4 separate regions of the Homo sapiens genome follow, and all the other regions are linked to region 1. The links are contacts of gene promoters, found by promoter capture Hi-C in blood cells and fetal thymus (Javierre and others, 2016). All regions are on one chromosome and are shown on one strand. The core of a region is centred on a gene start or on the middle of the fragment in contact, and the rest is flanking DNA. Distances in the headings are between cores, read along the strand shown.

Region 1 (3,314 bases), core at 560-3,059:
TTAAAATCCTTACTCTGCCAACTGTTGCTACTCAGTCAACAGAGACTGAGTGCTGAGCCCAAAAATGTGATAAAGGGAACAGACACTTTAAAAAAGATACAAACTACAATTACAATGAAATGCATCATCTATTTAAATATTTAAAGGCGTACTTTGTTACTTTCTTGCTTTGACCTTGGGGGAAAAAATCACTTAATCCTTTACAGGCTTATTTTCATTATCTGTAAAATGAGCATTATAATTATTTCTGTTAAAGTTATTTTTTGCTGGGCGTGGTGGCTCACGCCTGTAATCCCAGCACTTTGGGAGGCTGAGACAGGTGGATCAGTTGAGGTCAGGAGTTCGAGACCAGCCTGGCCAACATGGTGAAACCCCGACTCCACTAAAGATACAAAAAATTAGCCCGGTGTGGTGGCGGGCGACTGTCATCCCAGCTGCTAGGGAGGCTGAGGCAGGAGAATCGCTTGAACCCAGGAGGCAGAGGTTGCAGTGAGCCAAGATGGCGCCAATGCACTCCAGCCTGGGCAACAGGGTGACACTCTGTCTTTAAAAAAAAAAAAAAAAGGTTATTTTTCTCAGCAAGAGGCTCTTACCATTAGTAGGAGAGACCTCAGTTCTGCTTAGAGCTGAGCCCAGGGGGATTCTGGCCAGGTCGGGGTGCACGCTTGTAACAGCATTCACTTGTTCAAACAACATATTCAGCATTTACTATATGCTCAGCAAAGCAACGTATTTCCTTCCATGAGGAACTGACAATCTTGCTGGGGAATCACATGTATGAAATAGTTAAAATATCAATAAAAGGTACGTATTAAATACTATGGGAATTCAGAGGGACCATTACAGGTTGGAGCAATCAGGCAAGGCTTCCTAAAAGGGTTCATATTTAGGTGTTCATAATGAACTATAGTTCATTTATACAACAAGAGTTTACAGACCACTTAACTGCCAGGATATGAGGATACAGCAACGAACAATTCAGTCCTCGCTGTCCTGTAGCCAATATTTTAGTTGGGAGAGGTGGACAGCAAACAATAAATCAGGCAGTAATAAGTGCTATATTTAAGTAAAACAGGGTAAGGGGATAGAGATGTGGGTATGGGCAACAAGAAAAGACCAAAGTAAAGTAAGGGATGTGTCAGAGAGACAGATTTTGATGGCTGGGAGAGTTTCTAACTGGACCTAAGTAGGGACCTCCGAAAAACAAGGATACGTCCTAGTCCTTTCCCGCATATTCAAAGCATTGAGACATTCTTGGGGGTATCAGAAAAAATAATGGTAATTTCCTACATCAGCTTATTCAACATCCAGAGGGAAGAGAAACGGGGTCCCAGCATCTGAAGAACCCACACCTCCTCTCCTACCTTGATGGATAATTCATGAACCTGTCGCGTTTCCACCCCCCCACCTTCCCCAGATGTCCCTTCCGGAAGCTCAGGGCCGGAGTCCTCCGGTTTCAGCTTTTGCCCCTAGCGGAACCCGCCTTCACTTCCGCTATAGCGTCACATCCCCTCTTCCCAGTCGCTGGGCAGAAGCTATTTCCGCCCCGAGTTATCGTAACTTCTGCCCTGAATATCTCGCAGCGCTAGCGGCGCCGGAAGTGTTCCAGCCACTCCCGGAAGTGACTCGGCTTCTGCACGCCCCTCTTTCTCCATTAGCGCCCCCCCTACATTGCTATTTCCCTCCCTCCCCCCTTTTCGTTTCCGGCGCTCCCGCCTTCTCTCCGCAGAGCTCTTCTCTGAGCCTGTTGGGGGGAGGGAGGGGGGCGTGGAGGAACTGGGGTTCGCGGGAGCACGAGCTGCAGCACCACTTCCGGGTGAGTGCAAGGGGAGGGCAGCAAGGAGGGGGGGCCACCCACTACCTCGCGCCCCCGCCCTGCGGGTGTCTCGCGCGCGTTCCGTGCGTGTGAGTGTGTGGGTCTGTCTCGCTCCAGAAGTGCGTGCCCGCGCGCTGCGCCTTGCGCTTTTTCCCCTCCCTCGCCCCTTCCTGGTCCTCCCACCCTCCTCGGCTCCCTCCTTTCCCAGCAAACGCCGCCCCTCCCGCGCCCTGGCTCAGGCTCTGGCGCCGCCGCAGCCGTCGCCGCCCGGTGAGTCTCGCGCCGCTACAGCCGGCGCGCGCCAAGCTGCTTGCTCCTCCCCCCTCCCCTTTTCCTTGGGCAGGCGGGGAAGGGGGGGTCCACGATGTGACTGTGTGTGTGTCCGTCCCGGAACCGGAAGTGGTTGTGGAGGAGCGGGCGATGGGAAGGAATGGGGGGGTTTAGGGGGCGGGTGCCTGTCTGGTGGGTGGCAGAGTTCAGCTCCCTGGAGGGGAAGGAGGGACGTCCCAAGGAAGGGTCTTTGAGAAAGGGGTAGGGGACGACATCAGGAGAAGGCTCCCAGGAACTGTCTCAGGGGAGCGAAGGTTTTGAGGGGACAGCTGGGGTCTCCAGTAGATAGACCACGGTGCAGGCTGAGGGAGGTACTTCTTGGCACAAGGCCTCGGGTAGGCAGGGGGCGAAGTCCTCGAAGAAGTGGGGGGAAGGCTAGAGGAAGTGGCTGGGCCTGAACTGGCACTGTGCCTGCCACAAGGTCTTGTGCATCCCCCAGCCCTCAGCTTTGCCTTCTGAAGCCACTCCTCAGGGGCACAGACCCTCCTCCTCCTCCATCTCTAATGTTCTCTGACCCCTGGTTACCTGTGGCCTGGGAACGAACAAGGACCAGTCTCTGAGCCTAGGAGTGAAACCCAAACGCTGGTGATAGAATTCGTCTTAGTTTCTGGGAATTGGATTTATTTCTCTTGTATCCACGTAGAGGGTAGCACTAGACTGCTGTTATTATATCCACCCGTCTTTGGATTGCTGGCTGGGGGGTCTGCCTGCCTTCCAGACTGACTGCTGACAAATAATTCCTGAGGTTCTCCACAGTTCTCTGGTGGCTGCACCCTGCCTGGCCCCTGTAACCTAGACAATTTGTTTACAGAAAGTTCAGGAGCCCTGGAAAGGAGAAGGAATAAGACGGCAGGAGGAAGAGAGAGAGAGGGTAAGATGATTTTTGGGTTAATGGCTTTTCTGGTTTTGGGGGAGAAGGGGTCACAACCAAATGGGGCGTGTGTGTGTTTCACAATGTGATAGAATACTTAAAGTAATAGCAATTGTAATGCTGAGATTGTTGTGGAGAGAAATCAGTTTTTTTCTATTATCTCTTGAGGGTCAGGAAGTTTTTGTGTAAAAAGTTGGCGCTATCCCCCATCACTTTCCATTCCTACTAATGCTCATCAGGAATGAAATATGAAATGCTCAGGTGAAGCCACTGAATAGTGTTGCCTTGTGTCCAAAG
Region 2 (3,314 bases), core at 366-2,865, 370 kb before region 1:
ACTAAGAATAGATGCCAATACAGAGTGATATAATGGACTCTGGGGACTCAACGTGGGAGGAGGTTGAAACAGGGGCGAGAAAACTACACACTGGGTATAGTGTACACCGCTCAAGTAACAAGTGCACTAAAATCTCAGAATTGACCACTAAGGAACTCATCCATGTAACCAAAAACACCAGTACCCCCAAAACTATTGAAATTATTAAAAATAATACATAAATAAATAAATTCTAAAATAAAAAAGAAGTGCCAAATGAAGGCTTGGCCTAATCGAAGTTGGAAGGGTGGACAAAGCCCTTTCTGAGGCCTCAGCCATTCCAAATCCCAGGGAACATGCAACCCTCTTAACACCAAGCTCACCTCCGCAATTCTTCATGTCATCATGGAGGAAATATTCCGGGGGGCAGGAGCAGAAGTAACCACCAATGAAATTGTTGCAGAAGTGGCTACAAGGGACATCTACAAAATCTGTGCATTCATTTATGTCTACAAAGAGTAGAAAGAGGCTGAGGTCAAGAACAAACACCAAGAAGGGAGAATGAGGTTAAATCCAAAACCATAAGGGTAAGAAAAAGTAGGAAAGGCCTATTGCTTAAAGATCCGTCAAGGGATCACATTTCAGGCTACTATTATTCCATATTACTCTCCTGACATATGATTCCAGAGTTGAGCCCTACCACTACACAGCTATAAGGAAGCTCGGGGGTGTGTGTGTGTAAGTGACATAGCCTCACTCTGTCACCGAGGCTGGAGTGCAGTGGTGGGATCTTGGCTCACTGCAACCTCCACATTTTCAAGCAAGTTCAAACAAGTCTCACGCCTCTACCTCCCGAGGAGCTGGGAACACAAGCACGCACCACCACTATGCCTGGTTAATTTTTCATATTTTTAGTAGAGACAGGGTTTCACCATGTTGGCCAGGCTGGTCTTGAACTCCTGGGCTCCGGTAATCCACCTGCCTCAGCCTCCCAAAGTGCTGGGATTACAGGTGTGAGCTACCATGCCCGGCCTAGGCAGCTCTTAATGTCAGAGATCCTTGACTTTTCTCATGTACAGAGCATTTCAGCTCCAGGAATGACACTCTGCAAGGTAAACATCATGACGATGCCTTCTGCAGGGAGGAATCAGTACATTCATTGCTTTATATGATGTTGGTCCTTCTGTCAAATCTAAACAATAGTTTGGCTTTATGAGATGTCCTAGCTTCATTTTAACCTAGAGAGAGATACAGAAGTACCCAGAATTTGAAGGTTTGAATGCCATATATTGAATGGGTTTAAATACTACACATTCCTTGTGTGATTCTTGGCAAGTTATTAACTTTCCTAGTCCTTATTTTCTTCATCTTTATATGGAGCAAATAATACCTACCTTGAAGGATTAAAGTGACGATTGTGTTAAAATAGGAAAAATCCCCAATCCCCAATACATACCCAGTTTATAGTGGCTCTCAACAAATTGCTGTTTATTATGTACTATGTGTTATTACCATGATCATCATCACCACTAAGATATGATCATGCATTTGAATTTCACAAAAGTGATTTATGGAGCGACCCAGGCCAAGTCAACACTTTTTATAAGAATTACGAACAGAATCCTCATTCAATGTGTTGCTCAGTGGATTTCTCATTTCTAATCTTTTAGCTGGGTCAATAAGGCACATGCAGAAGGGTGAGCCTTACCTGTGGCAACATAGTATGCAGCAAACCCCGTAAAACGCTCTTCATTGGAAAAGTCTGACTTAAAGATCACCTGGAGTTTGTTGTATGGGACTTGGAACTCTTCCACAATTGGAGAGTGGGGATTGTTACTGCTCCTCTGTCCACAGAGCCTCCCTTCTTCAGTGTCTCCTGAGATTATCTAAGAGAAGAGTCACAAAAAAAAAATCTAGGAAAGGGTAATATTTTGGTATGGAGTTAAAAGAAGGGACAGAGAGAATAGAACATTTATGCCACTAGGACTTGACTCCAGTTCACTGTGAGTACAGGTGGCACTCCCTCCCACATCCTTATTCCGCTACCTTAGCCCTAGTCTTCCATCTCTATTCTTTTTGTGCTTATAACATACCTGCACTGAGTCATACGCACAGTTCTCTGACAGCTCAATGTCCAGATGGGTGAAGTAGAGGTGAATCCCATACCCTTCAGGAACTTCTATGTCCCAAGATTTCTCTACCTCACTGGGATATGCCTGAGGATAGTTAGGGGACAGGATCTCCCCATACATGGTAGGCTCAGCATAAACCCATGCCAAAAGTGAAAACAGGACAATGCACCTGAAAAAACAGAGGCATAGATTGGCGGGTGACCAGGCACCAGTAGCCTAGGACAGAACGCGCTATTTGCCAGAGGCAGAAGAAAGGGGGAAGAAGAGAGGCAGTCAATCGGCCATGGGGGAGAATCTTAGGTCGGAATAAAGAAAAGGCCCAGGTCAAACCAAAACCCAGGCTTCAGACAAGAGCCCTTTTTTTTTTTTTTTTGAGACAGGTTCTCACTCTGTCACCCAGGCTGGAGTGCAGTGGTGCGATCTCAGGTCACTGCAGCCTTGACCTCCCGCGCTCAAGTGATTCTACCACCTCAGCCTTTTGAGTAGCAGGGACCACAGGTGACACGCATGACGCTGGGCTAATTTTTTTTTTTTTTAATAGAGACAGGGTCTCCTTATGTTGCCCAGGCTGGTCTCAAAGTCCTGGGCTCAAGCAATCCTCCCGCCTCAGCCTCCCAAAGTGCTGGGGTTACAGGTGTGAGCCATCATGCCTGGCCCTTGAGCGCTTTTCTTGAGAAGATGAAGGGAATGGAGTCTGTGTCATCTCAGGGACCCTTGATCACTTACCACATCTCTGGCGATTTGTCCACCCTGGTGAGCTGCCTGTCTCTTGGTCCTGGCTTTCTGCACCTCCGGACTTTGGAGCCTAAGGGGTGGCAGGCCTGGCTGTATTTGTCTGACAAACACAAGCACCTTCTTTGGTGGTGCGGCGTCACCTGGGGCTCAGTGTCACCTTCAAAGGTATAACACACAGGGCCATATCACCAACATCCCCACATGGCACCGTGCCCCTCACACCCTCCCTAGTTAACTTCGACTAACTTTCTAGACTATAGCTAAATTGTATCCTTCCCTCATTGCTTCTCTAGACTTTCTCCTAATTTTTCTCCAAAGGAATCGAGTACTTTCTCCCAGTTTTCTTCTTCCTCTATTGTCCTCCACCAGCCCCACCCCCGCGGTATCAGTCTCTCTCCTGCCCTCAAGAACGATGCTCCCATTTCCACTCAGGTTTTCAACAGTCTTGGCGCATCATGATCATCCATG
Region 3 (3,314 bases), core at 374-2,873, 370 kb after region 1:
CCCAAATTCAGGTTTGTGTTTCGGGTGCCAAGGAAGGGATGTTACGGGAAAGAAGAACTGGAAGGAAGCAGGGTTTCTGTAAGGGACGTTCAATGCCATCATCTCTGCTAAACTTGCCCCTTGCCCGACCCCAGGAAGAGGCTGGAGGAGGCGGCGGGGGGGGGAGGGGGGCGAGGGGGAGCCCCGAGTACGGGGTAGGGGGTCGGGGGAATGGGCGGGATGGGGCTCTTGGAGGTGCCTCCCAGCGAGCCCAAAGCCTCTCCAGCAACCCTGGGAGAATTTTCTCGGCTTGGTTAAGAGGAGAGACACATGGGGGCAGAGGGGACGGGAAAGGAAAAGGAAATTGGCGCTTAAGCCAGAATGTGACCCCCCTACAAAACTGAGAAGAGGAAGGGAGGGCCCCTAGCAGGATTCTTCTTCCTTTGTACCCATGGAGAGGAAATGCCTCCTTTCCCTGCTGTCTCTGGGGTGGCTCCTAGATTCACCCACTCTCCTCCCAGAACTCCCCAGTGCCGGACTAAAACCGAACTCTGAAACGTGCCCACTGACTTCCTGAGCAACAGATGCGGATGCGTTTCCCCAGTCAGCAGCAGGCCCTACCCAGGCCCCAAAGACCACCCCTTTCTTCTAATGATGACAACGGCAAACATTTATGGAGTGCCCATACAGTGCTGGGCCTTGTGCCTGGCCACTTGCGGACTGTCTGTCCTGCGTGCACTGCAACTCCCCAAGAGGTGAAGTAACTCCCTGACAGCTGCTCGGGCCTCTCCTTCAGACCCTGGCTCTTAGCCTCGGCTGCCTCCTTCAGTCTCCCTGCTTTAATTTCTTGGTCGCCATCTCTGACGGCTCTTTCTGTTCCTGTCTCTGTTCCTTTTCCTCTTCTCAGTCCCTGGGCATTCCCCAAGATTCAGTCTCTTCTCCCTGGAGAAGCTTACTTTCTCTAAAAGTGTGAGTCATCACAGCTAGACCCGCTAGGAATAAATCTGCAAGTCAACGTTTCTGCCAGGGTGAGAAAACAATAGTCTGCCCCCTGGGGATTGCTCTATGAAAGGGACCAACAGAGTTTCTACTGCCCTCTTCAGTGTATAAAGACTGATGGCTCTAGAGAGGATTCCCTAATAATCTGGTGTGAGACAATAGCAGGAAAAGTCATTTCAAAGTTTCAGTTTTCTTTGTTTTGCTAAGGAAGGCCAGGGAGCCTTGGTGCATATCTTGGTTATAGATCTTGACAGATCTTTCCTGTTAGCCTGGAGTGAGACTACCAGGGGACTGAGTTGTTTTGCATAGTAAAATACCCGTAATTTTCAGTAGCTCTTGGGATTCTGAAAGGGAGAAGGTGAGAGTCTGGCTGTTGTTCTGTGACTAAAAACCAAAAAAAAGAGGAGAAAGTTCTGAAGGTGGAGGTGGCAGTTCCGAAGGAAAAAAGGCAGCCTGCCATTCACTGCCAGCCCCACTGGCTATCCTGGGGAGTTGGGGCTCTAGGGACACCGATGCCACTAGCTTGCGCTTTTGTCCCTGGGCTCCCCCTTGAGCCTCTAGCCTTCAGGAAAATGTTTTATTTAACTTTTTTTTTTTTTAGACAAGGTCTCACCCTGTTGTCTGGGTTGTAGTGCAGTGGTGGGAACATAGCTCACCGCAGGCTCTATCTCCCGGGTTCAAGTGATCCTCCCACCTCAGCCTCCCGAGTAGCTGGGACTACAGGCATGCGCCACCAGGCCCAGCTAATTTTTGTATTTTTTGTAAAGATGGGGTTTTGCCATGTTGGCCAGGCTGGGTCTTGAACTTCTGGTCTCAAGCCATCTGCCTGCCTCAGCCTCTCAAAGTGCTGGGATTAGAGGAGGTGAGCCACTACGCCTGGCCAAGAAAATTTGATTAACCACCAGAATGATGTCACTTGCCAGTCAGTCCAGCCTAGTGGAAAGTGTGTTTAGGCTTAGGTGGAAGTGGTGGAGAGAAGTCCCTGCCATGCAGAGGGGACAGTGAACCGAGCCGGAAGCAGGGGACAGGGCAGATGGGAGACCACTGTCATCACAAAACCCACCTGCCTCCCCTTGGGGTGTGTTTTTTGTCCTCCTCTTTCACTTGAATTCCAGGTCTTTGTTTCTGTTTCTTTTGTTCCCAAAGCCCCTAAGATATCTCCACTAGGTTATATCTTGGCTGCCTCAATTTCAAAGCGCTGCTGTTTAAATATTCCTACAGTAAAGCCACCTCACTGAGGAAGCAATAACTAAACAAACACATTTCCCTTTCCCTTTCTAATGACTGCATTTCTGTCTGGGGTCCCATTGCCAATGCAGTGTTCCAAACTGAAGCTTCGGGAGGCCAACTGTGCTCTTTGCCGCTGGGTATCTGGAGTTCCTGAGCCTGTGCCCAGTGCTGGCCCCAGGCTGTGTGCCTAAGCCGAATGACAGCTTTGAATCTCCCTAGGAAGCAGGTAGTCATTGTGTATATCTGTTTTGCAGATGACGAAATTGAAGTTGAGGGAGGTCATATAACTTACCCAAGGTCACATGGCTAGGACCTGGTAGGACCGGTGTCTGAACCTGGATTTTTCTGAATTCAGTATAGACTTTAACCAAAGTATCCCTAAGGCTCCCCCTTCTCTTCCCTCTTCTTTTTTTTTTTTTTTTAAGACAGAGTCTCGCTCTGTCGCCCAGGCTGGAGTGCAGTGGCGCGATCTCGGCTCACTGCAAGCTCCGCCTCCCGGGTTCACGCCATTCTCCTGCCTCAGCCTCCCGAGTAGCTGGGACTACAGGTGCCCGCCACCGCGCCCGGCTAATTTTTTGTCTTTTTTAGTAGAGATGGGGTTTCACCGTGGTCTCAATCTCCTGACCTCGTGATCGGCCCGCCTCGGCCTCCCAAAGTGCTGGGATTACAGGCGTGAGCCACCGCGCCCGGCCTCTTCCCTCTTCTTTAGGTCCTTTCTTCTCCTTTGTTTTTTGTCCCTTTTTGCAATGTCTCCCTAAGGCTGTGGCACTAAACCTTCCATGTTTCACACCCAAACTAGTACAATAAACCTCCTGTCACCAATTTCTCCCTCCTCCAGCCCACCCAGCACACTGCTACCTGATTTCCTGAAAACCTAATTCAAGAGGAAACACACTGATTTCACCCTTGCTCAAGAATTCATGGCAGGGCTATGCACGGTGGCTCACGCCTGTAATCTCAGCACTTTGGGAGGCCGAGATATGCAGATTGCTTAAGCTCAGGAGTTCAAGACCAGCCTGGACAACATGGAAAGACCCTGTCTCCACAAAAAGATGCAAAAAATTAGCCAGGTGTGGTGGTACACACCTGCAGTCCCAGCTACTTGG
Region 4 (3,314 bases), core at 499-2,998, 330 kb after region 1:
TGGCACCAGCATCTGCTCAGCTTCTGGGGAGGCCTCAGGAAACTTTTACTCATGGTAGAAGGGGAGGAGAGGGGGCAAGAGAGAGAGAGACCAGGCACTTTTAAACAACCAGCTATCGGGTGAACTAATTAATAGTGTGAGGATTCACTCATTACTGTGAGGAGGGCACCAAGCCATTCAAGAGGGACCCACCCCTGTGACCCAAACACCTCCCAGCTAGGATCACCTCCAACATGGGGGATCACATTTCAACATGAGACTTGGAGGGGACAAACATCCAAACTGTATCCTCCTGTTTAAAATCGTTCAGTGTCTCTCACGGCCTCCAGCATCAAGTTGGTACTCCTTAGCATGGCTTTCTCACCCCTTTCCTCCCCGATAACTACACCCTTTTCCCCCACCCTATAATCTTTTTTTAATAACACTTTTATTGAGATATAATTTACAAACCATAAATGTATTCTTTTAATATGTATAATTTAGTGATTTTTAATATATTTGGAGTTGTGTAACCATTACCACTACCTGTTTTTAGAATATTTTCCTTACCCCAAAAAGAAACCCTGTACCCATTAGCAGTTCTTCCCCATTTTCTCCCCTCCTCCAAGCCCTGAGAGCCACTCTTCTGCTTTCTGTCTCTATGGATTGCCTGTGGTGGACATTTCACATAAGTGGAATCATACAATATGTGGTCTTTTGTGAGTGGCCTCTTTCATTTAGCATAACGTTTTCAAAGCTTATCCATGTTGTAGCATGGATCAGAACTTCATTTTTATGGCTGAATACTATGATATTGTGTAGATACACCACCTTTTTTTTTTTTTTTTTTTTGAGACAGGTTCTCACTCTGTTACCCAGGCTGGAGTACAGTGGCACAATCAGACCTCACTGTAGCTTTGATTTCCTGGGCTGAAACGATCCTCCTGATTCAGCCTCCCAAGTAGCTGGGACTACAGGCTCATGCCACCATGCCCAGCTAATTTTTTTTAATTTTAGTAGAGACTAGGTCTCACTATGGTGCCCAGGCTGATCTCGAACTCCTGAGCTCAAGCCATCCTCCTGCCTCGGCCTCCCAAAGTGCTGGGATTATAGGTGTAAGCCACCACGCCCGGCCCACATTTTTGCTTATCCATTCTCAGTTGATGGACATTTGGATTGTTTCTACTTTTTGGCTGTTATGATTAATGCTGCTATGAACATTCCTGTACATGTTTTTGTGGATCCTGTACATGGATCTATGTTTTTATTTCTCTTGGGTGTTTACCTATGAGTGGAACTGCTGGGTCATGTGGTAACTCTATATTTAACATTTTGAGGAGCTACCAGACTTTTCCAAATGGTCACACCATTTAACATTCCCAACAGCAATGTATGAAGGTTCTAAATTCTCTACCTCCTCCTCATGCTGTTGTCTGTCTTTTTGACTTTAGCCATCTTAATGAATCCCTGTAATCGTACTAGTGAGCTAATACAGCTCTTACTAAGGCTAGACACCATTCTAAGCATAATTTCATGCTCAACACCCCTGTGAGGTTGATATTTTTATTATCCCCATTTTACAGCTGAGGAAACTGAGGTACAGAGAGATTAAGTAAGTAACTTGTTTGGTCCCACATCTAATACTTGTTAGAGCCCCAGGATTCAAATACAAGGAATTTAATTCTGGAGTCTGTGCTCTTTTTTTTTCTTTTGGAGACGGAGTTTCACTCTTACTGGCCAGGCTGGAGTGCAATGGCGCAATCTCAGCTCATGACAACCTCCACCTCCCAGGTTCAAGTGATTCTCCTGCCTCAGCTTCCTGAGTAGCTGGGATTACAGGCATGTGCCGCCGTGCCCGGCTAATTTTGTATTTTTAGTAGAGATGGGGTTTCACCATGTTGGCCAGGCTGGTCTCAAACTCCTGACCTCAGGTGACCCCACCCGCCTCGGCCTCCCAAAGTGCTGGGATTACAGGCGTCAGCCACTGCGCCTGGCTGAGTCTGTGCTCTTAACCATCACATTATACTGATTCTCATAGGCCACTATAGTAATGTGCTTAGTGTGTATCTCTATGTGTTTTTGCAAAATCTGTATTTAATTTATATAAATGGTATTGTGTTATAGATCTCATTTCACCTCTTACTATTTTTTTTTTTGAGACAGAGTCTCGCTGTAGTGTGCAGTGGTGCAATCTCAGCTCACTGCAACCTCCCAAGTTCAAGCGATTCTTCTGCCTCAGCCTCCCGACTAGCTGAGATAATAGGTGCCCACCACCACGCCTGGCGAATTTTTGTATTTTTGGTAGAGACGGGGTTTCACCATGTTGGCCAGGCTGGTCTCAAACTTCTGACTTCAACTGATCCACCTGTCTCAGCCTCCCAAAGTGTTGGGATTACAGGCGTGAGCCACTGTGCCCCACCACTTTTTTTTTTCGAAGCTCTATGTTTTAAAACCCATCCGTGTTTCTCCACCGCTGATGGAACTTGTGCCTGCTTTCCATGGGGGCAGCACCCACCATTATACTTGTCCCCTCTCTGTGTGCGAAGGGCTCACCAGCCTTCAGGACTGGCCACCTCTGTAGCCTCTCCTTCAGTCCTTCCCTGCATCTAGCCTGGGCTCTAGAAGTGCTGACTTCCCAGTACATCCTAGAATGTGCACCAGTATGTCACGCCTCTGTGCCTTTGTTCTTCAAGGCCAGTGGAATATCCCGGATCACCTAGTTCCAATCTCCTCATTTTACAGAATCATCCTACATTTTACAGAGGAGGAGAATAAGCTTAGAAACAATGACCTGCTTGAGACCGTACAACCAGAACCCCACCCTTTATCTCTGGCCAGCCTCTTCTCCCTCTTCTCTTTAGTCCTCCTCTGCTGCTCACTGGCCGAAGTCCCCTTTCCGTCTTTGCCTGGCTCCCGTCGCTAGCTCCAAGATGGCAGGGTAGCAGAACACAGATCCTCTCTGTGCCGTGTGGCACATGTGCTGTGCTACAACCCACACAGCCTCCCTGTTCTGGAACCTGTGATTTGCTGTGAAATTGCAGTCCTACTGCAGCTGTGTTGCCTCTGTGATTGCTTTCTCTCTGTCCCCACACCTGTCACAGATGAGTTTTGGACCTACCATTCTGAGACATACTGATGCAAGAGGCTCCCAGGAAACACTTGGTACTGATCTTCCTCCCCTCAGCTCCGTGCTCACCACTGGTCACACTTTCTCCTTTAACCCTGCTCCCCTCCTCCCCTTCATTCATTCATTCATTCATTCATTCATTCATTCCTCACTCAACAACTATTTATTAATCATCTCCTCTATCTCCTAGATGACAGGATCTATGCAA

What was found. Contacts are between HindIII fragments. The CHiCAGO score rates a contact against its expected background, and 5 or more counts as called.
Region 2: a fragment that was not itself captured here is called in contact with the fragment with the promoter of ZNF384 in region 1 in 1 of 17 cell types (activated CD4 T cells); the score reaches 6.1 in activated CD4 T cells.
Region 3: a contact is called between a fragment that was not itself captured here and the fragment with the promoter of ZNF384 in region 1, in 1 of 17 cell types (naive CD4 T cells). The highest score is 5.8, in naive CD4 T cells.
Region 4: a contact is called between a fragment that was not itself captured here and the fragment with the promoter of ZNF384 in region 1, in 1 of 17 cell types (activated CD4 T cells). The highest score is 5.4, in activated CD4 T cells.

Annotation. Positions count from the first base shown.
Region 1 is chr12:6,687,870-6,691,183 of GRCh38, reverse strand. It overlaps ZNF384 (zinc finger protein 384), which reads left to right and starts at 1,809. Exons shown (of 12, transcript NM_001385745.1): 1 at 1,809-2,086; 2 at 2,958-3,017. RefSeq lists silencers at 1,691-1,770, 1,851-1,960 and an enhancer at 1,331-1,957. The HindIII fragment of the contact is 17,984 bases long and covers 1-3,314 here.
Region 2 is chr12:7,061,441-7,064,754 of GRCh38, reverse strand. C1S (complement C1s) reads right to left here. Exons shown (of 12, transcript NM_001734.5): 2 at 2,838-2,916; 3 at 2,073-2,280; 4 at 1,688-1,865; 5 at 363-488. The coding sequence starts at 2,842. Among named protein-coding and RNA genes, the nearest start is that of C1S, 2.4 kb to the right of the region's middle. The HindIII fragment of the contact is 7,460 bases long and covers 1-3,314 here.
Region 3 is chr12:6,321,143-6,324,456 of GRCh38, reverse strand. The region is part of intron 13 of PLEKHG6 (pleckstrin homology and RhoGEF domain containing G6); the gene reads right to left. Among named protein-coding and RNA genes, the nearest start is that of PLEKHG6, 12 kb to the right of the region's middle. RefSeq lists enhancers at 1-442, 886-975, 1,026-1,095, 984-1,525. The HindIII fragment of the contact is 1,382 bases long and covers 933-2,314 here.
Region 4 is chr12:6,356,377-6,359,690 of GRCh38, reverse strand. All of the region lies in intron 4 of SCNN1A (sodium channel epithelial 1 subunit alpha), which reads left to right. Among named protein-coding and RNA genes, the nearest start is that of TNFRSF1A, 16 kb to the right of the region's middle. The HindIII fragment of the contact is 2,019 bases long and covers 739-2,757 here.